Regions from separate parts of the Homo sapiens genome. Here all the other regions are linked to region 4. The links are contacts of gene promoters, found by promoter capture Hi-C in blood cells and fetal thymus (Javierre and others, 2016). All regions are on one chromosome and are shown on one strand. The core of a region is centred on a gene start or on the middle of the fragment in contact, and the rest is flanking DNA. Distances in the headings are between cores, read along the strand shown.

Region 1 (3,657 bases), core at 909-3,408, 290 kb after region 4:
CCAAAATGCAGAGATTACAGGAGTGAGCCACCATACCTGGCCATGGTACTTTTCTTTACTTTTTCCCTCTTTACTGTCCAGGACAGGGATCAGCACATTTCTCCTGGAAAAAGTCAGACAGTCAATACTTTTGGCTTTACAGGCCAGATGGTCTCTGTCAGAACGACTAAACTCTGCCATTATAGCTTGAAAGCAGGGCTAAACAATGTGTAAACAAGTGGACATGGCTGTGTGCCAATAAAGCTTTACTTACAAAGACAGGCAGCAGGCCACACTTGCCTTTCAGGCTATAGCTTGTTGGCCTCTGCTCTAGAATTTCTTTTCTTTTCTTTTCTTTTCTTTTCTTTTCTTTTCTTTTCTTTTCGAGATAGAGTCTTGCTCTGTCGCCCAGGCTGGAGTACAGTGGCATGATCTCGGCTCACTGCAACCTCTGCCTCCCAGGTTCAAGCAATTCTCCTGCCTCAGCCTCCCAAGTAGCTGGGATTACAGGCACGTGCCACCATGCCCAGCTAATTTTTTAGTAGATATGGGACTTCACTATGTTGCCCAGGCTGGTCTCAATCTCCTGACTTCATGATCCACCCACCTTGGCCTCCCAAAGTGCTGGGATTACAGGTGTGAGCCACCACGCCCGGCCCCCTGCTCTAGAATTTCTAAGGAAAATGTGATCGTTCTTGGATGTATCTGGAACTCGATGTAATAAATTAGGACTCAGGCCAGCCTGGGCAACATAGCAAGACCCATCTCAAAAAAAAAAAAAAACTTAAAACTAGACCAGGTGCATTGGCTTATGCCTGTAATCCCAGAACTTTGGGAGGCCAAGGTGGGAGGATCACTTGTGCCTAGGAGTTCAAGACCAGCCTGGGCAACATAGTGAGACCCCATATTTCCAAAAAAATACTAGCCAACTGTGGCGGCACACACCTGTAGTCCCAGCTACTTGGGAGAACAAGGCAGGGAGATCAGAAGCCCAGGAGTTCAAGGCTGTAGTGAGCCATGATCTTGCCACTGCACTCTAGCCTGGGCTTTTTTGAGACTCTGTCTCAAAAAAGAAAAAGAAAAAAGACTCAGGAATATCATTCAATTTTAATAGCCAAAACCATTAATTGTGGACTGGAGATTGATTTTTTGATAGAAGGGGTGCAATTGGAAGAGAGAGGGGAGAAGTCCCCACGACCTGAAACCAGTGGGCACATGGAGGAAAAAAAATATCCCAAGACCCTGTGGGTTTCCACCTTTTCCATGGCTTTCCAGGATCCCAAAGTTCTATAGACATAAAGTGGAGGGGGTGGGGAAGGTGGGAGAAAGTCCAGATCAAATTCCAAGATTCCTTCTGGCTTCAACATTCTACTCTCCAAGCCACCTGCTGCTTCCATTTGACTGCTAATGTCTGGATCCCATTCAGCTCTGCAGAAAGAGTTCTGTGATTGATTAGTAATGTCTGCCACAGGCAGGCCATAGGGATAAGGTACGAAAGCAGAAACGGTACCTACTTCCCTCTGCTGATCAGTTTGTCTAGAAAGCAGGGGGCATATCCTGGAGGAGTAAGAGCTAACCCATTCCTCCCAAGACACTCACAACAAAAGCTGGCCCTATGGATGTTTTCCAACACCGGTCAACCTCCTCCAAGCAGAGTTCTGTGGTCAAGTGGTCAGTGGCTTCAATGTTCCGAATACCCCACCTCAGATCAACGACCTGGGAAATAGAAACACAAGTTTGTCAGAGAGGTGGCATGACAGGTGATTTGTTTTTTCAATCCCTTTTGACAAAGCAGAAAGTTTCTTTCAAAAATTTTTGACAGCCTCTTCCTGTAGGGGGATGTCTGGATTAAAAGAACTTGAACCAAATTCATAACCTCAGTATAATCATGAGAAAAATAACAGACAGACCCAGACTAGAGGGAAGGGCGTTCTTCAAGATGCCCTGCCAGTCAAAGCCAAGCATGGTGGTGGGCACCTGTAGTCCCAGCTACTCGGGAGGCTGAGGTAGGAGGATCAATTGAGCCCACAAGGCAGAGGTTGCAGTGAGCTCTTATTGTACTACTGCATGCCAGCCTGGACAGCAGAGCCAGGCTCTGTCAAAAGAAAGAGAGAGAGGAAGGTAGGAAGGAAGGAAGGAAAGAAGGAAGGAAGGAAAGAAGGAAAGAAGGAAAGAAAAAGACTGCCAAGGTCATGAGAAATAAGGTGACTGAGAAATTGACACAGACCAGAGGAGACTAGGGCAATAAGACAACGAAATGCAATGGGGTACCCTGGATGGGGTTCTTCACCAGAAAAGACTTAGATAGAAGAGCTGGCAACATTTGAATAAAGTCAGGAGGTTAACAGTCATGTACCAATGTTGATTTATCTTTTTTTTTTTTTTTGAGTTGGAGTCCTGCTATGTCACCCAGGCTAGAGTGCAGTGGCGCAATCTTGTCTCACTGGAAAATCCTTCCTTCCTTCCTTCCTTCCTTCCTTCCTCCTTCCTTCCTTCCTTCCTTCCTTCCTTCCTTCCTTCTTTCCTTCCTTCCTTCCTTCCTTCCTTCCTTCCTTCCAGTGGCATGATCTTGGCTCATTGTAAATTTTGCCTAATGGGTTCAAGCGATTCTTATGCCTCAGTCTCCTGAGTAGCTGGAACTACAGGCGCACACCACCATGCCTGGCTAATTTTTTGTATTTTTAGTAGAGATAAGGTTTCACCATATTGGCCAGGCTGGTCTCGAACTCTTGACCTCAGGTGATCCACCCACCTCGGCTTCCCAAAATGCTGGGATTACAGGCATGAGCCACTGCCCCCAGACTGATTTCTTTCTTTCTTTCTTTCTTTTTTTTTTTGGTCAGGGGGACAGAGTCTTGCTCTGTCACCCAGGCTGGAGCTTAGTGGTGCACTCTCAGCTCACCACAACCTCCGCCTCCCGAGTTCAAGCAATTCTCCTGCCTCAGCCTCCCGAGTAGCTGGGATTACAGGCGTGCACCACCACGCCTGGCTAATTTTTTTGTATCTTTATTAGAGATAAAGTTTTGCTATGTTGGCCAGGCTGGTCTCAAACTCCTGATCTCAAGTGAACTGTCTGCCTCAGCCTCCCAAAATGTTAGGATTACAGGCACGAGCTACTGCACCTGTCCTCAAAGTTCATTTCATAGTTGTAACAACATAGTTGGTTGTGCTGTGGTTAGGTAAAACGTTAGGAGACACAGAGTGTGGGGTGTATGGGAACTCCGTACTGTCCATGCGTTTCCTGTAAGCCTAAATTCCAAATTCAGAAGTTTATTTATAAACATTTAGTCGGGCACGGTGGCATGTGCCTATAATCCCAGCTACTCTGGAGGCTGAAGCATGAGGATTGCTTGAACCCAGGAGTTCAAGACCAGGTTGGGCAATGTAGCAAGACCTCATCTCTAAAAAAATAAAAATTAAGAAATAAAAAAGCAAGTTAATTAAAATAAAAAAATTAGAACAGAGGCAGGGCAAAGTGGCTTACCCCTATAATCCCAGCACTATGGGAGGCTGAGGGAGGAGGATCTCTTGAGGCCGGGAGTTTGAGACCAGCCTGAACAATATAGGGAGACATTGTGTCTACAATAAATAAATAAATAAATAAATAAATAAATAGCCAGGTGTAGTGGTGTGTGCCTGTAGTCTCAGATACTTGAGAGGCTGAGACAGGAGGATCAC
Region 2 (3,360 bases), core at 469-2,968, 360 kb after region 4:
CCGAGGCAGGTGGATCACTTGAGGTCAGGAGTTTGAGTTTGAGACCAGCCTGGCCAACATGGTGAAACCCCGTCTCCACTAAAAATACAAAAATTAGCTGGGTATGGTGGCGGATGGCTATAATCCCAGCTACTCAGGAGGCTGAGGCAGAATTGCTTGAACCCAGGAGGCGGAAATTGCAGTGAGCCAAGATCGTGCCACTGCACTCCAGCCTGAGTGACAGAGTGAGACTCCGCCTCAAAAAAAAAAAAAAAAAAAAAAGCCCAGGTCCTTTCCCCTTTCCATACTCCTTGGTTTCTCTTGATGGGTTTGGGACAGCCCCATGAAGCCAATAGGTTTTCAACTGCCGCATGCCATGAACACATTCCCCTCTGACTGGGTGAGCTTAGGCTAGTCCCTCCCTTCCCTGGGCCTCAGTTTGCCCATATGTAGGAGGGGGAGGCGGTCTAGGGTGACCAACTATCCCCCTTTGCCTGGGTCCCAGGGGTTTCCTGGGACATGGGACTTTCTTTTATTCTTTTTTTGAGATGGGGTCTTGCTCTGTCGCCCAGGCTGGAGTGTAGTGGTGCGATCTTGGCTTGATGCAACCTCCACCTCCCGGGTTCAAGTGATTCTCCTGCCTCAGCCTCCCGAGTACCTGGGATTACAGGCACCCGCCACCAGGCCCGGCTAACTTTTGTATTTTTAGTAGAGATGGGATTTCTCCATGTTGGCCAGGCTGGTCTCAAACTCCTGACCTCAGGTGATCCACCTTCCTCGGCCTCCCAGAGTGCTGGGATTACAGGCATGAGCCCCCGCACCCGGCTGGACATGGGACTTTCGATGCTCATCTTGGGAAAGCCTGGACAAGGTGACCACACCAGATCTATATCAGTCATTTCCAAAGATGCCTGTGAGGGTGAAAAAGAGATTGCTTAGCGCCTAGCAACGACGCAAGAGGTATTTCTGGAACAGTGCGGAAATGGAAAGTACCTGTGGGTGGAAATTTCAGTAGATGGATTTTTTAAAAATCAGCTCTGCCTCGGCTGGGCACGGTAGCTCATGCCTGTAATCCCAGCTACTCCGGCAGCTGAGGCAGGAGAATCGCTTGAACCTGGGAGGCGGAGGTTGCAGTGAGTCGAGATCATGCCACTGCACTCCAACCTGGGAAATAGGAGCAAAACTCTGTCTCAAAAAAAAAAAAAAACAAAAAACAGGCCGGGCGCAGTGGCTGATGCCTGTAATCCCAGCACTTTGGGAGACCGAGGCGGGTGGATCACAAGGTCAGGAATTCGAGATCAGCCTGGCCAATAGAATGAAACCCCATCTCTATTAAAAATACAAAAATCAGCTGGGCGTGGTGACAGGCACCTGTAGTCCCAGCTACTCGGGAGGCTGAGGCAGGAGAATCGCTTGAACCCATGAGGCGGAGGTTGCGGTGAGCTGAGATCGCGCCACTGCACTCCAACCTGGGCGATAATAGCGAAACTCTGTCTCAAAAAAATAAAATAATAAAATAAAAATAAATAAATAAATAAACAAACAGAAAAAAATCAGCTCTGCCTCAGAAGAGAGGAAAAAGCTTTGGGTCCCTAAGTCCTGGTCTGCAATGGACTCTGTGACTTTCCCTTTTCAGGGGTCAATGCCTCATTTGCAGATGACTGGGTGGTACTAGAAGGGTCCCCAGGGCACTCTAGCACTGTGCTATTCAGTCAGAGGTGTATGAAGCATGGGGTACTGACCGAGTCTCTCAGTGACTCTAGGACCAGTCTTCTCCTCCTGAGCTTTTGAGCTCAGCATTCTGCCTCAGTTTCCTCCCCTGTTAAATGGAGATAGCAGCCTCTCCCTCACAAGGTGGAGCAGGAGTCAACAGCCTCCTGCCCTCAAAAAGCTTGTAGTTCAAACCAGAGATCTCAAATCAGGGATCAAAGAATGGTTTTCTTTGGTCCTAACAGCATATGAAAAATGTTAAAACTTGTCTGGGTGTGGTGGCTCACACCTGTAATCCCAGCACTTTGGGAGGCTGAGGCGGGTGGATCACTTGAGGTCAGGAGTTCAAGACTAGCCTGGCCAACATGGTGAAACCCTGTCTCTACTAAAAACACAAAAATTAGCTGGGCATGGTGGCGGGCACCTGTAATCCTAGCTACTCAGGAGGCTGAGGCAGGAGAATTGCTTGAACCAGTGAGCCGGAGGTTGCAGTGAGCCGAGATCACACCACTGCACTCCAGCCTGGCAACAGAGTGACTCCGTCTCAAAAAAAAAAAAAAAAAGTTAAAACTGCAACCAAGATGTCCTGCAGGGAGTGAGTGGATAAACAAACCATGAAACATCCTTACTATGAAATACTATTTGGCCGGGTGCAGTGGCTCACGCCTGTAATCCCAACACTTTGGGAGGCCAAGGCGGGCAGATCACCTGAGGTCGGGAGTTCGAGACCAGCCTGGCCAACATGGAGAAACCCCATCTCTACTAAAAATACAAAAAATTAGCCAGGCGTGGTGGCACATGCTTGTAATCCTAGCTGCTTAGGAGGCTGACACAGGAGAATCACTTGAACCTGGGAGGCAGAGGTTGCAGTGAGCCAAGATCAAACCATTGCACTCCAGCCTGGGTAACAAGAGCAAAGTCCATTTCAAAAAAAAAAAAAAGAAAGAAAAAGAAAAAAGAAAGAAATATTATCCAGTGAGCTATCAAGACATGAAAAGACATGGAGGAACCTTAAATGCATATTCCTAAGTGAAAGAAGCCAGTCTGAAAGGGGTACATACTGCATGATTCCAACTAAAGGACATTCTGGAAAAGGCAAAACTCTGGAGGTAGTAGAAAGAAAGATCAGTGGTTGGCCGGGTGCAGTGGCTCATGTCTGTAATCCCAACACTTTGGGAAGCCAAGGCAGGTGGATCTCCTGAGCCCAGGAGTTCAAGACCACCCTGGGCAACACAACAGAACCCCCATCTCTTTTTTTTTTTTTTTTTTTTGAGACAGAGTCACTGCAACCTCCGCCTCCCCCCAGGTTCAAGCAATTCTCGTGCCTCAGCCTCCGGAGTAGCTGGCATTACAGGCTTGCGCCACCATGCCTGACTAATTTTTATATTTTTAGTAGAGACAGGGTTTCACTGTGTTGGCCAGGCTGGTCTCCAACGCCTGGCTTCAAGTGATCTGCCTGCCTTGGTGTCCCAACTTGCTGGGATTACAGATGTGAGCCACCTCCTTCAGCCCCATGATTCTGAGTTATTTATTTAATTAATTTATTATTTATTATTTATTTTTCTGAGACAGAGTCTTGCTCTGTTGCCCAGGTTGGAGTGCAATGGCATGATCTCTGCTCACTGCAACCTCCGCCTCGCAGGTTTAAGTGATTCTCCCACCTCGACCTAC
Region 3 (3,684 bases), core at 259-2,758, 380 kb after region 4:
TCCAGGCTGTTCGGCTCTTGAATCCCAGCGATGAAACCAGGAACTCACTTTCCCGGGATGCCGAGTCTCCATTCCTCCATTCCTGATGACTTCAAGAATGTTTTTGACCAGAAAACCGACAACCTTCCCAGAAAGTCCAAGCTCGTGGTGGGTGGAAAAGTGTTCGCCGAGGTGTGCATGGTTTCCCAGCCACGTCCCTGTTTTCAAAGATAGTTTCACTTTGGTCTCTGAATTGAAATGCTGTCTACTGAAAGGGTTTCAGGAGCGTTTATGTAAGGGGCTGTGATGAAATTGCATTCCCCATAGATAAAAGAAAAATCATTTCTATCCAGAGATCTGAGCAGAAGGATTGGCTTGTTAGTTTAACACAGCCGTATTTTTGGACATTCAGTGTTACTTGCTGAGTCTGACAGCCTCTGGGCCCGGCCAGGGGCCCTGTTAACAAACTGCTTTCACATCCCAACAGGGTCTGCTTGGCCACTCAGTGCAGCTGCGATTAACCCTAAAGGCTTTAAGGAACGGGCCACCTGTAACAGAGACACCAGCCTTCCTGTATAGACACTAAATTGTTAGCAAGAGTGTTGAGCTAGTTCCTGGTGAAGTGTTTCCACAGAAGACATGTGGAGCAGTTGTGGGGATATTAAGGGAAACTTTCCTCTGCCTTGACCCCTTTGTTAAATAAAATGACTTTGGGAGCCATTCATTGTACAGTTGCAGGAATGAGAGTGATTTTATGATGTGGTACATTGGGACCATGTTCTAAAACCTTGGGTTTCTGAGTCTGCTTTTTGAGTAGGTGATTTTGAGGTTGAAAAACCAGGGGCCTTCATCTAGGAAATACAGCATTTTCCAGAAGCTTCTTTGAAAGGGAATCCTGGTTTTGTTGCCAAAATGAAACGCCCGGGGTTGGCGCTGAATCCCACAACTGTGTGATTTGCTTGTTGAGTTTTTTGTTGTCTGGTTTTTTTGTTTGTTTGTTTATACCAATAAGAATGAGCCTGAATGTTGGTGGTTTTTGAAATCCTGACTTGGAGGTAAACCTGGAGGAAGGAAAAAAAGTAAATATGCAGGCTTTTAGGACTGAGTAGCCTTGAAAATAAACCTCATTTCTAAAAAGGACCTTTTGTTTATACTTTTTTTTTTTTTTTAACCAAGAAGTCAATTTCCAACCTGAGTCCTTTTGAATTTACCCTGCTGGAAAAACCTAGGATTCATTTTGGAGGCCATGAGAAAGAAAAGAGTCAGTGGTAGAGTTTCCTTTTTGGATTTAGCTCAATAAATGATGGTCAAGAATTGGGCAAGTGGGGCTGCGCGCAGTGGCTCATACCTGTAATCCCAGCACTTTGGGAGGCCGAGGTAGGCGGATCACTTGAGGTCAGGAGTTCGAAACTAGCCTGGCCAACATGGTGAAATCGCATCTCTACTAAAAATAGAAAAATTAGCCAGATATGGTGGCACACGCCTATAATCCCAGCTACTCGGGTGGCTGAGGCACAAGAATTGCTTAAATCTGGGAGGCGGAGGTTGCAGTGAGCTGAGATTGAGCCACTGCACTTCAGCCTGGGTGAGACAATGAGATTCTGTCTCAAAAAAAAAAAAAAAAAAAGAATTGAGTAAGTGGAATTTTGACTGGAGCTGCTCCTGAAAGTATTGAAAGAGTCATTGCTAATGGTGGGCTCTTGCTAGACCAGGGTCAAGTCCACTTTTGCTGCCTCTCAGGTTGTGGAATTCTCCTTGATCACTTCTGCAATTCATTTCCTTGCCAAATCTCAGCCAAGCATCACCCCAAGGTCTGTAAGTAGCAGAGATCGGAGCTGCTGGGTCTGGCTTTGCTGAGGCCGGTGTCGCTGTCAGAACAGGCACGCCAAGATCTTGGCTGGGTCCCTCACAGGCCAGATGAATGGTGTGAAGAAACCTTCCTGCCTTATTCAGACTGGCGCGGAGGTCTCAATGAGGCGAGGCATTTGTCCATTATGGGGATGAATCGTGCTCTCAGAAGAGAATCCTGTCATTGAGGTTTTGTTTCAATAGTCCTCTTTTTCTCCAGAGAACTGTTGTCTCATTGTTAATAATAGCAGCGTGGCTTTTTCAGATGCTGGTTGGTGGCTGCTGTACATTTTAAAAATGGAATCTCATGGTTGTGTCTCTTAAGGAAGCTTTTCAAGAACTTTACTGGCACCAGAGGTTATCAGAGTTTGAAGTTTGGGTGCCTAGTGTCTCACAGTGTTTAAGCACTAATGTTCTGGGTCAGTTAGGTGTGAGTACAAATCCCATCTCAGCTCATTCTGAGAGGGACCTTGGCTAATTGCTTTCTCCTCTCCAAGCCTCAGTTTCCACATCTCTAAAATCGGCCTGCAAGTAGTGTGTGCCTAAGGTTGTTGTAAGTTTCAATGAACTCGAATGCGGCTGAGTGCCTGAGAGCACCTGTTGCTGTGGGTATCATCACCGTGTGTGTTTTCTGTCTTCTCATCCACTTTTCTTTGTGCAGTCTGCACACACACCATTAAAGGCTGATGACAGCATTTTTACGAATTGCAAACAGAGGCCAGCGCGGTGGCTCCCAGCACTTTGGGAGGCCGAGGCAGGTGGATCACGAGGTCAGGAGTTCAAGAACAGCCTGGCCAAGATGGTGAAACCCCGTCTCTACTAAAAATGCAAAAATTAGCTGGGTGTGGTGGCATGCCCCCTGTAATCCCAGCTACTCAGGAGGCTGAGGCAGAGAATTGCTTAAAAACCCAGGAGGTGGAGGTTGCAGTGAGCTGAGATCGTGCCAGTGCACTCCAGCCTGGGTGACAGAGCAAGATCTTCTGTCTCGGAAAAAAAAAAAAAAGTTACAAACAGACTGAGTGCAGTGAGAGGCTCACACCCTGCAATCCCAGCATTTTGGGAGGCCAAAGTGGGCAGGTCACCTGTGGTCAGGAGTTCGAGACCAACCTGGCCAACATGACAAAACCCCGTCTCTACTAAAAAATACAAAAATTAGCCAGGTGTGGTGGCGTGCGCCTGTAATCCCAGCTACTCAGGAGGCTGAGGCAGGATAATCACTTGAACCAGGGAGGCGGAGGTTGCAGCGAGCCGAGATCGCGCCATTGCACTCCAGCCTAGGCGACGAGCAAAACATCTCAAAAAAAAAAAAAAAAAAAAAAAACGCAAACAATTTCCAGCCTGGTAAACCTTTTCCTGTCTTCACCATCCCCATGCAGCATTTTCCATATTCCTGTATGTATGTTTTGAGAGTGGATAAGGAAGGATGAGTTCTGCTGTGTTCATTTCAGCATCATTTTCTTTACACTTGCTTTGTTGCTAGGAGGTGTTACAGTTCTCATTTTTACTTACGGTGCAGTGTCAGTAAATAGGTCCTTAGCCACCTTGTTGCTGGACTTGGATTATATTTTGTCCACTGTGATCAGGGCTGCCCCTGGCACCAGTGTTGTGATCTTCATTGGCTTCTATTGTGGCATTAGCTTCCTTGGGCAGATAACCATGGAGGGGTCCATAATATCCTTAAATACCATTGGTGTGGCTTTAAGTGGCTTTTGTTTGTTTTACTTTGCTTGAAAAAATTTTTTAGGCCTGGTACGGTGGCTCATGCCTGTAATCCCAGCACTTTAGGAGGCTGAGGTGGGTAGATCACTTGAGGCCAGGAGTTCAATACCAGCCTGGCCAATATGGTGAAACCCTATC
Region 4 (3,378 bases), core at 638-3,137:
AGGCTGGCCTGGAGGCTGAGGAGTGGAGGTTGGCTTAGGTAGGAGTCAGAGTTGGCCTGGAGGGGCCCGGAGGGGTGGCATGGGGCAAACTTCGATGATGAGGGTGAGATCAGATGCTGCTTCTTGGTGCTAGATTTTTGCACCTCCATGTGAGTTTAGCAGCCTGTTTGGGGTTGGCCTGGTCTGAGCTTGGAGGCAGGCAGCTCCTCCTCTTCTCCAGGCAGGAGAGACGGCTACTCAATCTACTCCGGCCCCTGCGCGCGTGCACGCACACACACACACCAACACACCATCATCAGTTACGTCCCCTCTGGGTTGTGTGCTCAGTGGCAGCAGGTCCTGTATGTCCCAGGGTCCTCATTGCCCAGCCCAGGGCTTGGTGCTGCCTGGGTGATCAGTGTTGGGTCCAAAGGCTGTTGACAGGGCTGAGAAGCCCCCAGAGGACCCACATCCCTAGGGGCAGGGAGGGGGCAAGAGAAGCTTCCCTTGAGTTTCCTGGAAGGATCAGGAGTTGGACTGGCAAAGGAGGCAGGTAGAGGAAGACAGAGATTAGGCAGAAGCAGGCAGTGGAGTAAGAACAGGGTGTTGGAGGAACTAGGCTGAGGTCTCTGCCATCAAAGCCAGAGTTTAGATTTGGTCTCAATAAACGGGAAGCCCTGGCTGGATGTGGTGGCTCACACCTGTAATCCCAGCACTTTGGGAGGCTGAGGAGGGAGGATCATTTGAGCCCAGTGCTCAAGACCAGCCTGGGCAACACAGTGCGACTCCGTTTCTAAAAAAAAATATATAAAAATTAGCTGGGTGCGGGCTTGCACCTGTAGTCCCAGCTACTCTCCAGGAGTCTGAAGCTGCAGTGAGCTGTGACTGCACCACTAAATTCCTGCCTGGGCAACAGAGCAAAACTCTGGTCTCAAAACATAAAAATAAAATGTAAAATAAACAGGGAGCCCCGAGGATTCCGGGCAGGAGGGGGTGTGGTCAGCACTGGAATTTTAGAAGAAGGGCAGTTGGTAGCTGGGGGAAGGGGGTTCCACACTGGAAGGAGGGGGTCCAGGACTTGGACATGGTATAGGATGTGCCGCCTGCCAGTGGGACCTAGGACAGCAGGACCATCACTGAGGTGGCCACACGGGGAGGGGCAGGAGGGGACACCCTGCTCTTGGAGAGAAAGGGGGTGCCCATCCACCCCTGCTGTATGAAGGGGAAAGGGGGACTCTGAGGCCCAGCGAGAGAGGGGACGGGCCCAAGGGATTTGTGGACAGTGGGGGTGGGGGAGAGGGGAGCAGAGAGCACAGATAGGGACCTGGGGCAGATGTGAGTCTGGGAGGTTCGACCCCTGGCTAGACTGTTTCCCCAAAGGGTCCTCTGCTCCTTGGGCTGTACGCACTGCACTGGGCACTAGATACAGGCCAGGGCTTAGGGCACGGCGGCGCCTGTGGGATCGGGGTTGCAGGCGGCGTCCAGACCCAGGGGCCCCTGGTGAGGGGCGGGCCCGGGGAGGGGGCCATAAGGGGCTGGCTGGGGAGGGAGGGAGGGAGAGGCCAGGGAAGGGACAGGTTCCGAGTGGACGCTGGGTGGAGAGGAGAGGGAGAGTGGGGGCGGTGGGGGGTCGGGTCCGAGGCGGGGCTGGTGGGGAGGGGGGCATCCGGGGGCGAATCCGGGTAGGGGGTGAGGAGGCGGGTTCGGAAGGAATCGGGCAGGGCCCGGGTGGGTCCGGTGAGTAAGTGAGGGGACGATCCCCGGAAGGGATCGGGGCGGGTCGGGGTCCGGAGATGGGCGGAGCAGGCGTCCCGGGAGGGTGCGCCCAGGAGCGGGGCGAGCGGGGCGAGCGGGGCGGTCCCGGAGACGAGGCGGGTCCGGGGAGGGGGCTGGCCCGGGGCTGCCCCAGCTTGGCCGGGCGCGGAGCGGGGCGCATGGCGCCGGGCGCACTGCGCGGGGGCTGCGAACAAAGGGCCCCCGGCGGCGGCGCGAGGACGGCCGCGCTCGGACCCTGGCCCTGGCCCAGCCCTGGCCCGGCCCCCTCCCCAGGCGCGGCGCCCCCCAGGAGCCGAAAAATGAGCGGCGCCCTGCTCTGGCCGTTGCTCCCGCTCCTGCTCCTGCTGCTGTCGGCGCGGGACGGCGTGCGCGCCGCGCAGCCTCAGGCCCCGTGAGTATCCTCCGGCGACAGAGGAGGTCGGTCGCCTTCTGGGGTGGGGGTCGCGGGTACTGGCTCAGAGTGTTGCAGCGACCTGCCCAAGGCCACACAGCCTCCGCGCTGGGCTGGACCTGGCCTCTTGTTCCCGAATCGTCTTGAGGAGGGGGCGCCCTAAAGTTTCCGAAGTGGCTCTGTGGAGGTACAGGGACTCCCAAAAGCTAAAGGTGCTGAGGTCAGCTCCCCCCGCCCCACCTCGCCCCCTTCGTGTGACCCGGGCTGTCATCATGGGTGGCGATTTCCAGTTGTCCAAGGTATGAAGGTAAGAGGAGCGTCTTGGCTGAGAAGTGGGAGGAGAGTGCGAAGGGGCACTTTCCCGTGGGTGGGCGTGGTGAGGGAGGAGGAAGTGTTTGTTTTGCTTCTACATTTTTCTAGAGGTTTGCTTGCAGGCTTCTGGTGGGTTGACAGCGGGGAGAAGGTGAATTAACTAACTGCTGGGGAGTACTGCTAAGTTGGCTTCACAGAGAATATTTCTAAACCTGGCAAGTTCGGGTGAGCTCTGCAGGGCTGCGGGTTCAGGGGGGCTGCCCTGGTCTGCACAAGACCAGCCTTTTAGTCCAGCTGGGCGTTTAGAAGGCGGCTTGTTCAAGCAGCCCTTGTTTAGGAGTTTCCAGAAAACTGGTAAGCAGTGAGACTAGGTGGGTGTCGTTATTTGCAGTGAGTAGTTGGTCCTTGCTGGTCACAGTTTTAAAAGCAAGACAGTCTACTGCGCTCTGAGCATCCAGACTTCCCTCTCCTAGGCTTCGTGAAATCGGAACCCTACAAATTTTCATCCTAATGCTTCTTTCAAAGCTGGCATCCCTTAGAATAGTGGTTCTCAGCCCTGGGGGGGATTTTTGTCTCCCTGAGGCCGCTGGGAAATGTCTGGAGGTATTTTTGGTTGTCACAAATAGGGAGAGGCATTTGGTGTTGGCATTAAGTGGGTGCAGGCCAGGAATGCTGGTAAACAGCTTTCGATGTGCAGGTCAGCTTCCACTGCAAGGAATGACGCGGCCCCACATGACAGACCTTGGCTCCAATGAGAGACCCTGCCTTATACAGAGGTTTTTGTTTGTTGTTTGTTGTTTTTGGGGTTTGTTTTTGTTTTTGTTTTGAGATGGAGTTTTACTCTTGTTGCCCAGGCTGGAGTGCAATGGCACGATCTTGGCTTACTGCAACCTCCGCCTCCCAGGTTCAAATGACTCTCC
Region 5 (3,690 bases), core at 726-3,225, 330 kb after region 4:
ACAGGGCGAGACATCATCTATATAAAAAATACAAAAATTATCTGGATGTGGTGATGTGTGCCTGTAGTCCCAGCTACTCAAGCGGCTGAGGCGGGAGGATCACATGAGCCCAGGAGGTCGAGGCTGAAGTGACCTATGACTGCACCACTGGACTCCAGCCTGGATGACAGAGTGATACCCTATCTCAAATAAATACATAAATAAATAAATTTAAAAGAAACTGTCCAATTGTCTCCCACCAGCAGTGTGCGAGCTCCAGCTGCCCCCAAATCTTTACCTGCACCAGGCATTGTCAGTTACTTTAATTTAATCCATCCTTAAAGGACGCTGGACACAGAGACTCACATCCCTTTGTTTTGGGAGACCAAGGTAGGAAGATCACCTGAGTCCAAAATTAGCCCCAAGGTGATGGTATTAGGAGGTGCGGCCCTTGGGAGGTGATTAGGTCATGAGGATGTGGCCCTCATAATGGGATTAGTGCCCTTCCACAAGAGGCCCCCAAGAAACTCCTTGATCTTTCTACCATGTGGGGACACCAAAAGAAGACACCATCTGTGAACCAGATAGCCAGCCCTTACCAGACAGTGAATCTGCCAGCATTTTGATCTTGAACTTCCCAGCCTCCAGAACCATGAAAAATAAATTTCTGTTGTTTACAAGCCACCAGTTTATAGTATTTTGTTGTAGCACACTGAAAGGACTAAAACAGGAGATAAGGTCTTTTTTTTTTAAATTTTTTTAGCACCAAACTGATTGAGATAAGGTCTTTAAAGAGACAATTAAGTTAAAATAGTCAGTCAAGCAGGGTGGCTCACATGCCTGTAATCCCAGCACTTTGGGAGGCTGAGGTGGGTGGATCACTTGAGATCAAGAGTTTAAGACCAGCCTGGCCAACGTGGTGAAACTCCATCTCTACTAAAAATACAAAAATTAGCCAGGCATGGTGGCACGTGCCTGTAATCCCAGCTACTCGGGAGGCTGAGGCATGAGAATCACTTGAACCCGGGAAGTGGAGGTTGCAGTGAGCCGAGATGGCGCCACTGCACGCCAGCCTAGGCCACAAAGCCAGACTCCATCTCAAAAAAAAAAAAAAAGATAATTAAGTTTTAAAAAAAGTCTATAGGTGGGCCCTGATCTAATTCACTGGTGTCCTCGTAGGCAGAGGAGACTAGGATACAGACATACGAAGAGGGAAGACTATACGAGGACAGAGAAGGCGGCCGTCTGCCACCCAAGCAGAGAGGCCTTGAGAAACAAAACCAACTGACACCTTGATGTCAAACTTCCACCCTCAAGAATTAGGGAAAAATAAATGTCTGTGGCTTAAGCGACTCTGTCTGGAGTATGTTACTGCAGCCTATTCATTTATTTATGAGACAGGGTCTCACTCTGTCATCCACGCTGGAGTGCAGTGGTGCAATCTCAGCTCATTGCAGCCTCGAACTCCTGGGCTCAAGCGATCCTCCCACCTCTGCCTCCTGAGTAGCTGGGATTACAGGCTCACATCACCACAACTGGCTAATTTTTTTTTTTTTTTTTTTCTGCAGAGACTGGGTCTCACTGTGTTGGCCAGGCTGGTCATGAACTCCTCAGCTCAAGTGATCCTTTGGCCTCGGCCTCCCAAAGTGCGGGGATTACAGGCATGAGCCACCATGCCCAGACTTTTTTTCCTTATAATTGAAAGCTTCTTTTTTTATAGCTTTACTGAGGCATAACTGATAGATGAACTATGCATATATAAAATGAAAACTTTTAAGTACTTAGGTTGAATGAGTGGGAAAAAAAGAAGTAAAAAATAATTAATTAAAAATAAATAAAAAAGAGGCCGGCGTGGTGGCTCAAGCCTGTAATCCCAGCACTTTGGGAGGCTGAGGCAGGTGGGTCATTTGAGGCAAGGAGTTCGAGACCAGCCGGGCCAATATGGCAAAACCGTCTCTACTAAAAATACAAAAATTAGCCAGGCGTGGTGGTGGGCACCTGTAATCCCAGCTACTCTGGAGGTTGAGGCAGGAGAATTGCTTGAACCCAGGAGGCAGAGGTTACAGTGAGCCAAGATTGCACCACTGCCCTCCAGCCTGGGCGACAGAGCGAGACTCTGTCTCTCTAAATAAATAAATAAGAAAAAAGTTAATTTTTTTTTAAATCTTAAGTAATCAAAGCAAAATTTAGACCAGGCACAGGCACGGTGGCCCACGCCTGTAATCCCAGCACTTTGGGAAGCCGAGGCGGGCAGATCACCTGAGGTTAGGAGTTTGAGACAAGCTTGGCCAACATGGTGAAACCCTGTCTCTGCTAAAAATACAAAAATTAGCCAGGTATGGCGGTGGGCACCTGTAATCCCAGCTACTCAGGAGGCTGAGGCAGGAGAATCACTTGAACCCAGGAGGCAGAGGTTGCAGTGAGCCAAGATCGTGCCACTGCACTCCAGCCTGGGTGACAGAGCAAGACTCCATCTCAAAAAACAAAACAAAACAAAAACCCAAAAGTAAAATTTAATAGATTCAGACATGGGTATAGACCCAAGAAACCAGCACAATCAAAGCCATCAGCAGATCCATCACCCGAGTTTCCTGGTGCCACTGCAAAATTCCTCTCACCTGCCCTACCCTGTCCTTCTTTCCCCAACCACATGCTGATCAGCTTTCTGTTACAATAGTTTGCTTTTTCTAGGATTTCAGATAAATGGATGCCTATATTACACATTCTTTTTTGTATGGCTTTTTCCCACCAATCTGGATACATTCGAGACTCATTCATGTTTTTGCATGTTCACCACCTCCACCGCCTTTTTTTTTTTTTCGCTGAACAGTAGGCAATACTATGGGCGGAGCACAGCTGTTCATTTATTCACATTTTTGTTTTTTTAAAGACAGAGTCTTGCTCTGTCACCCATGCTTCAGTACAGTGGCACCATCACAGCTCACTGCAGCCTCAACCTCCTGGGCTAAAACAGTCCTCCGTCCTGCACCTCCCAAAGCCCTGGGATTATAGGTGTGAGTCACCCATGACCACCCTATGTTTAACTTATAGTGTTTTTGTTTTGTTGGTTTTTTTTTTTTGAGACGGAGTCTTGCTCTGTCACCCAGGCTGGAGTGCAGTGGCGCAATCTCAGCTCACTGCAACCTCTGCCTCCTGGGTTCAAGTGATTCTCCCGTCTTAGCCTCCTGAGTAGCTGGGATTACAGGCAGGTGCCACCATGCCTGGCTAATTTTTGTATTTTTACAAAATTACACCTTGTTGGGGTTTCACCATGTTGGTCAGGCTGATCTCAAACTCCTGATCTCAAGTGATCTGCCCACCTCGGCCTCCCAAAGTGCTGGGATTACAGGGGTGAGCCACTGTGCCAGGCTAACATTTTGTTTTTTGTTTTGTTTTGTTTTGGTTTTTTTTTTTTTTTTTTTTTTTTTTTTGGAGATAGAATCTTGCTCTGTCACCCAGGCTGGAGTGCAGCGGTGCAATCTCAGCTCACTGCAACCTCCCCATCCCAGGTTCAAGGGCTCCTCCCGCCTCAGCCTTCAAGTAGCTGGGATTATAGGTGCACACCACCACGCCTGGCTAATTTTTTGTATTTGTAGCAGAGACAGGGTTTCACAACGTTGACCAGGCTGGTCTCGAACTCCTGAACTCAAGTGATCTGCCCACCTTGGCCTCCCAAAGTGCTGGGATTACAGACGTAAGCGATTGCACCTG
Region 6 (3,291 bases), core at 19-2,518, 310 kb after region 4:
ACTTTGAGAGGCCAAAACAGGCAGATTACTTGAGGCCAGGAGTTCGAGACCAGCCTGGCCAACATGGCGAAACCCCATCTCTACTAAAAATACAAAAATTAGCTGGCGCGGTGGCATGTACCTGTAATCCCAGCTACTCGGAAGCCTGAGGCAGGAGAATCGCTTGAACCCGGGAAGCAGAGGTTGCAGTGAGCCGAGATCGTGCCACTGCGCTCCAGCCTGGGCAACAGAGCAAGGCTCCATCTCAAAAAGAAAAAGTCTCGGCCAGGTGCGGTGGCTCACGCCTGTAATCCCAGCACTTTGGGAAGCCGAGGAGGGCAGATCATGAGGTCAGGAGATCGAGACCATCCTGGCTAACACGGTGAAACCCCGTCTCTACTAAAAATACAAAAAATTAGCCGGGCATGTGGCGGACACCTGTAGTCCCAGCTACTCAGGAGGCTGAGGCAGGAGAATGGTGTGAACCTGGGAGGCAGAGCTTGCAGTAACTGAGATCACGCCACTGCACTCCAGCCTAGTGACAGAGCGAGACTCCGTCTCAAAAAAAAAAAAGTCTCCCTAGACATTGCAATGTCCCCTAGGGGGCAGAATTCCCCTTACTCGAGAACCCCCTAGTCTAATGCATTTAGCTTATTTCAACCTCAGGGCCTTTGCACGTCCTGTACTTTAGTGCTCTATGCTGCATCTGTTCATGTTGTTCACATTTTAGCTTCAATGCTACCTCCTCCTGAGAGGCTGTCTCTGACCATCCCATTGCGTAGTGACCCCTTAAGTCACTCCCAATGCCATCGCCTTATTTTAATTTTCTGCATGGTACTCACCAACAGCTGATATGTTTCTACATGTTATTGTTTGTCTGTCCCACGAGAAAGTGAATTCCATGAGCCCAAGGATCTTGTCTGGTAAGGCTGGCGTGCCTGGCACATAGTAGGTGCTCAGTAAATTATCATCACAACAGCTTCCTCCACAACTGTTTCTCTTTCTGGACTTCTGTTTGTTGCTGAAGAAGACAGCTGAGCAGGACTGGGCTTCCCCAGTAAGGACAGAGGCCCTTTGCAGTGTCAGCGTTCTGGCTGTCCTGGGGGCTCCAGCCTCTCTTTAGCCTTTGCTGGTAGTTGAACGACCAATTTAGACTCCTCTGGGGAAATAGGTTAGAGAGGACAGTTTCCTGGCCTCGGCGCCACCCGGAAGACAAGCCCCTGGCTATCCTAGTAACTTTCGTCTTAGGTATTTTATGGGTCTCTCCTTGCCCAATTCTCCCAGCAACTGGGATAATGAAAGCGATTGTTTGCACTAGGGCACCAGCTTAGCCGGGCATTCAGCCCAGACTTAGTGGTTAACTATTGTGTGCCAGGCTGATACGGCTCCTCGTAAAAGATGCCATTTGCTGACAGTCTAGGAGGTGCAGTTGGTTGGCATTTGGCATTAGCAGTCCACATTATTACCCCAAGAGACAGACATTATGATCCTGTTTCACAGATGAAGAAAACAAGATGCAGAAAGGTGAAGTCCCTTGCCTGTGACGCTTCACTACTCTGCACTTGAATTTTCTCACTAACTTCCTGTGTTGGTGAGACAATGAAAAGCATTTATATAGAGAGTGAGACTAACACTACACCTACATCACAGGAAGGGCCCGTGAGATGTTAGCCATGATTAATTACCATTAAAACTCCAAGACCGGGCACGGTGGCTCATGCCTGTAATCCCAGCACTTTGGGAGGCCGAGGCAGGCGGATCACCTGAGGTCAGGCATTCAAGACCAGACTGGCCAATATGGTGAGACCCCTATCTCTACTAAAAATAGAAAAATTAGCTGGGCGTGGTGACGCATGCCTGTAATCCCAGCTACTTGGGAGGCTGAGGCACAAGAATTGTTTGAACCTGGGAGTTGGAGGTTGCAATGAGCCGAGATCCTGCCACTGCACTGCAGCCTGGGCGACAGAGCAAGACTTTGTCTCAAAAACTCACAAATCACCCGGGCATGGTGGCTCACGCTAGTAATCCCAGCACTTTGGGAGGCCAAGGCAGGCAGATCACGAGGTCAGGAGATCAAGACCATCCTGGCTAACACGGTGAAACCCCGTCTCTACAAAAAAAACAAAACAAAACAAAACAAAAAATTAGCTGGGCGTGGTGGTTTGCACCTGTAGTCCCAGCTACTCAGGAAGCTGAGGCAGGAGAATGGCATGAACCCGGGAGGTGGAGCTTGCAGTGAGCCGAGATCGCACCACTGCACTCCAGCCTGGGTGACAGAGCGAGACTTTGTCTCAAAAACTCACAAGTCACCCAGGCATGGTGGCTCACGCCAGTAATCCCAGCACTTTGGGAGGCCAAGGCAGGCAGATCACGAGGTCAGGAGATCAAGACCATCCTGGCTAACATGGTGAAACCCTGTCTCTACATAAAAAACAAAAAACAAAAAACAAAAAATTAGCTGGGCGTGGTGGTTTGCACCTGTAGTCCCAGCTACTCAGGAAGCTGAGGCAGGAGAATGGCATGAACCTGGGAGGTGGAGCTTGCAGTGAGCCGAGATTGCGCCACTGCACTCCAGCCTGGGCGACAGAGCAAGCCTCCATCTCAAAGAAAAAGTAATAATAATAGTGTTACTATATTTTCAGGGATAGAAGTTTCAGATACTTGGTCAGGCGCGGTGGCTCATGCCTGTAATCCCAGCACTTTGGGAGGCCGAGGTGGGCAAATCACCTGAGGTCAGGAATTTGAGACCAGCTTGGCCAATATGGTGAGACCCCATCTCTACTAAAAACAAAAATTAGCCAGGCATGGTGGCAGGTGCCTGTAATCCCAGCTACTTGGGAGGCTGAGGCAGGAGGATCACTTAAACCTGGGAGGCAGAGGTTGCAGTGAGCAGAGATTACGCCATTGCACTCCAGCCTGGACGACAGAGCCACACTACACTCCATCTCACAAAAAAAAAAAAAAAAGAAGTTTCAGGTGCTGCCAGGCACAGTGGCATGCTCCTGTAGTCCCAGCTACTGGGGAAGCCAAGGTGGGAGGATCACTCAAGGCCAGGAGTTCAAGACCAGCCTGGGCAACATAGTGAGACCCTCATCTCTACAACAACAACAATAACAAAAAATTAGCTGGGCGTGGTGGTGTGTGCCTGTAGTCCCAACTACTCGGGAGGTTGAGGTGGGAGGATTACTTGAGCCCAGAAAGTCAAGGCTGCAGTGAGATATGATTGCCTCACTGCACTCTAGCCTGGGCAACAGAGCAAAACCCTGTCTCTTTAAAACAAAAAAAGAAAAAGAAAAGAAAAGAAGTTTTAGG

The links. The method cuts DNA at HindIII sites, captures the fragments that hold promoters and counts their contacts. A CHiCAGO score of 5 or more calls a contact.
Region 1: a contact is called between a fragment that was not itself captured here and the fragment with the promoter of CPAMD8 in region 4, in 1 of 17 cell types (endothelial precursors). The highest score is 5.9, in endothelial precursors.
Region 2: a contact is called between a fragment that was not itself captured here and the fragment with the promoter of CPAMD8 in region 4, in 1 of 17 cell types (endothelial precursors). The highest score is 6.1, in endothelial precursors.
Region 3: a fragment that was not itself captured here is called in contact with the fragment with the promoter of CPAMD8 in region 4 in 1 of 17 cell types (endothelial precursors); the score reaches 5.7 in endothelial precursors.
Region 5: a fragment that was not itself captured here is called in contact with the fragment with the promoter of CPAMD8 in region 4 in 3 of 17 cell types (M1 macrophages, M2 macrophages and erythroblasts); the score reaches 6.2 in M1 macrophages.
Region 6: the fragment with the promoter of NWD1 here is called in contact with the fragment with the promoter of CPAMD8 in region 4 in 8 of 17 cell types (M2 macrophages, endothelial precursors, erythroblasts and 5 more); the score reaches 11.7 in M2 macrophages.

What each region holds. Positions count from the first base shown.
Region 1 is chr19:16,734,672-16,738,328 of GRCh38, reverse strand. NWD1 (NACHT and WD repeat domain containing 1) reads right to left here. Exons shown (of 19, transcript NM_001007525.5): 4 at 1,579-1,695. Among named protein-coding and RNA genes, the nearest start is that of NWD1, 17 kb to the right of the region's middle. The HindIII fragment of the contact is 3,826 bases long and covers 246-3,657 here.
Region 2 is chr19:16,668,103-16,671,462 of GRCh38, reverse strand. The region is part of intron 1 of TMEM38A (transmembrane protein 38A); the gene reads right to left. Among named protein-coding and RNA genes, the nearest start is that of TMEM38A, 8.6 kb to the right of the region's middle. The HindIII fragment of the contact is 309 bases long and covers 1,564-1,872 here.
Region 3 is chr19:16,643,583-16,647,266 of GRCh38, reverse strand. SMIM7 (small integral membrane protein 7) reads left to right here. Exons shown (of 5, transcript NM_024104.4): 5 at 6-1,119. The coding sequence ends at 21. Among named protein-coding and RNA genes, the nearest start is that of SMIM7, 15 kb to the left of the region's middle. The HindIII fragment of the contact is 1,300 bases long and covers 859-2,158 here.
Region 4 is chr19:17,025,319-17,028,696 of GRCh38, reverse strand. It overlaps CPAMD8 (C3 and PZP like alpha-2-macroglobulin domain containing 8), which reads left to right and starts at 1,887. Exons shown (of 42, transcript NM_015692.5): 1 at 1,887-2,146. The coding sequence starts at 2,055. RefSeq lists an enhancer at 807-1,715. The HindIII fragment of the contact is 6,852 bases long and covers 483-3,378 here.
Region 5 is chr19:16,693,352-16,697,041 of GRCh38, reverse strand. No RefSeq gene overlaps it. Among named protein-coding and RNA genes, the nearest start is that of NWD1, 25 kb to the left of the region's middle. The HindIII fragment of the contact is 578 bases long and covers 1,687-2,264 here.
Region 6 is chr19:16,717,824-16,721,114 of GRCh38, reverse strand. NWD1 (NACHT and WD repeat domain containing 1) reads right to left here and starts at 1,268. Exons shown (of 19, transcript NM_001007525.5): 1 at 822-1,268. The HindIII fragment of the contact is 21,822 bases long and covers 1-3,291 here.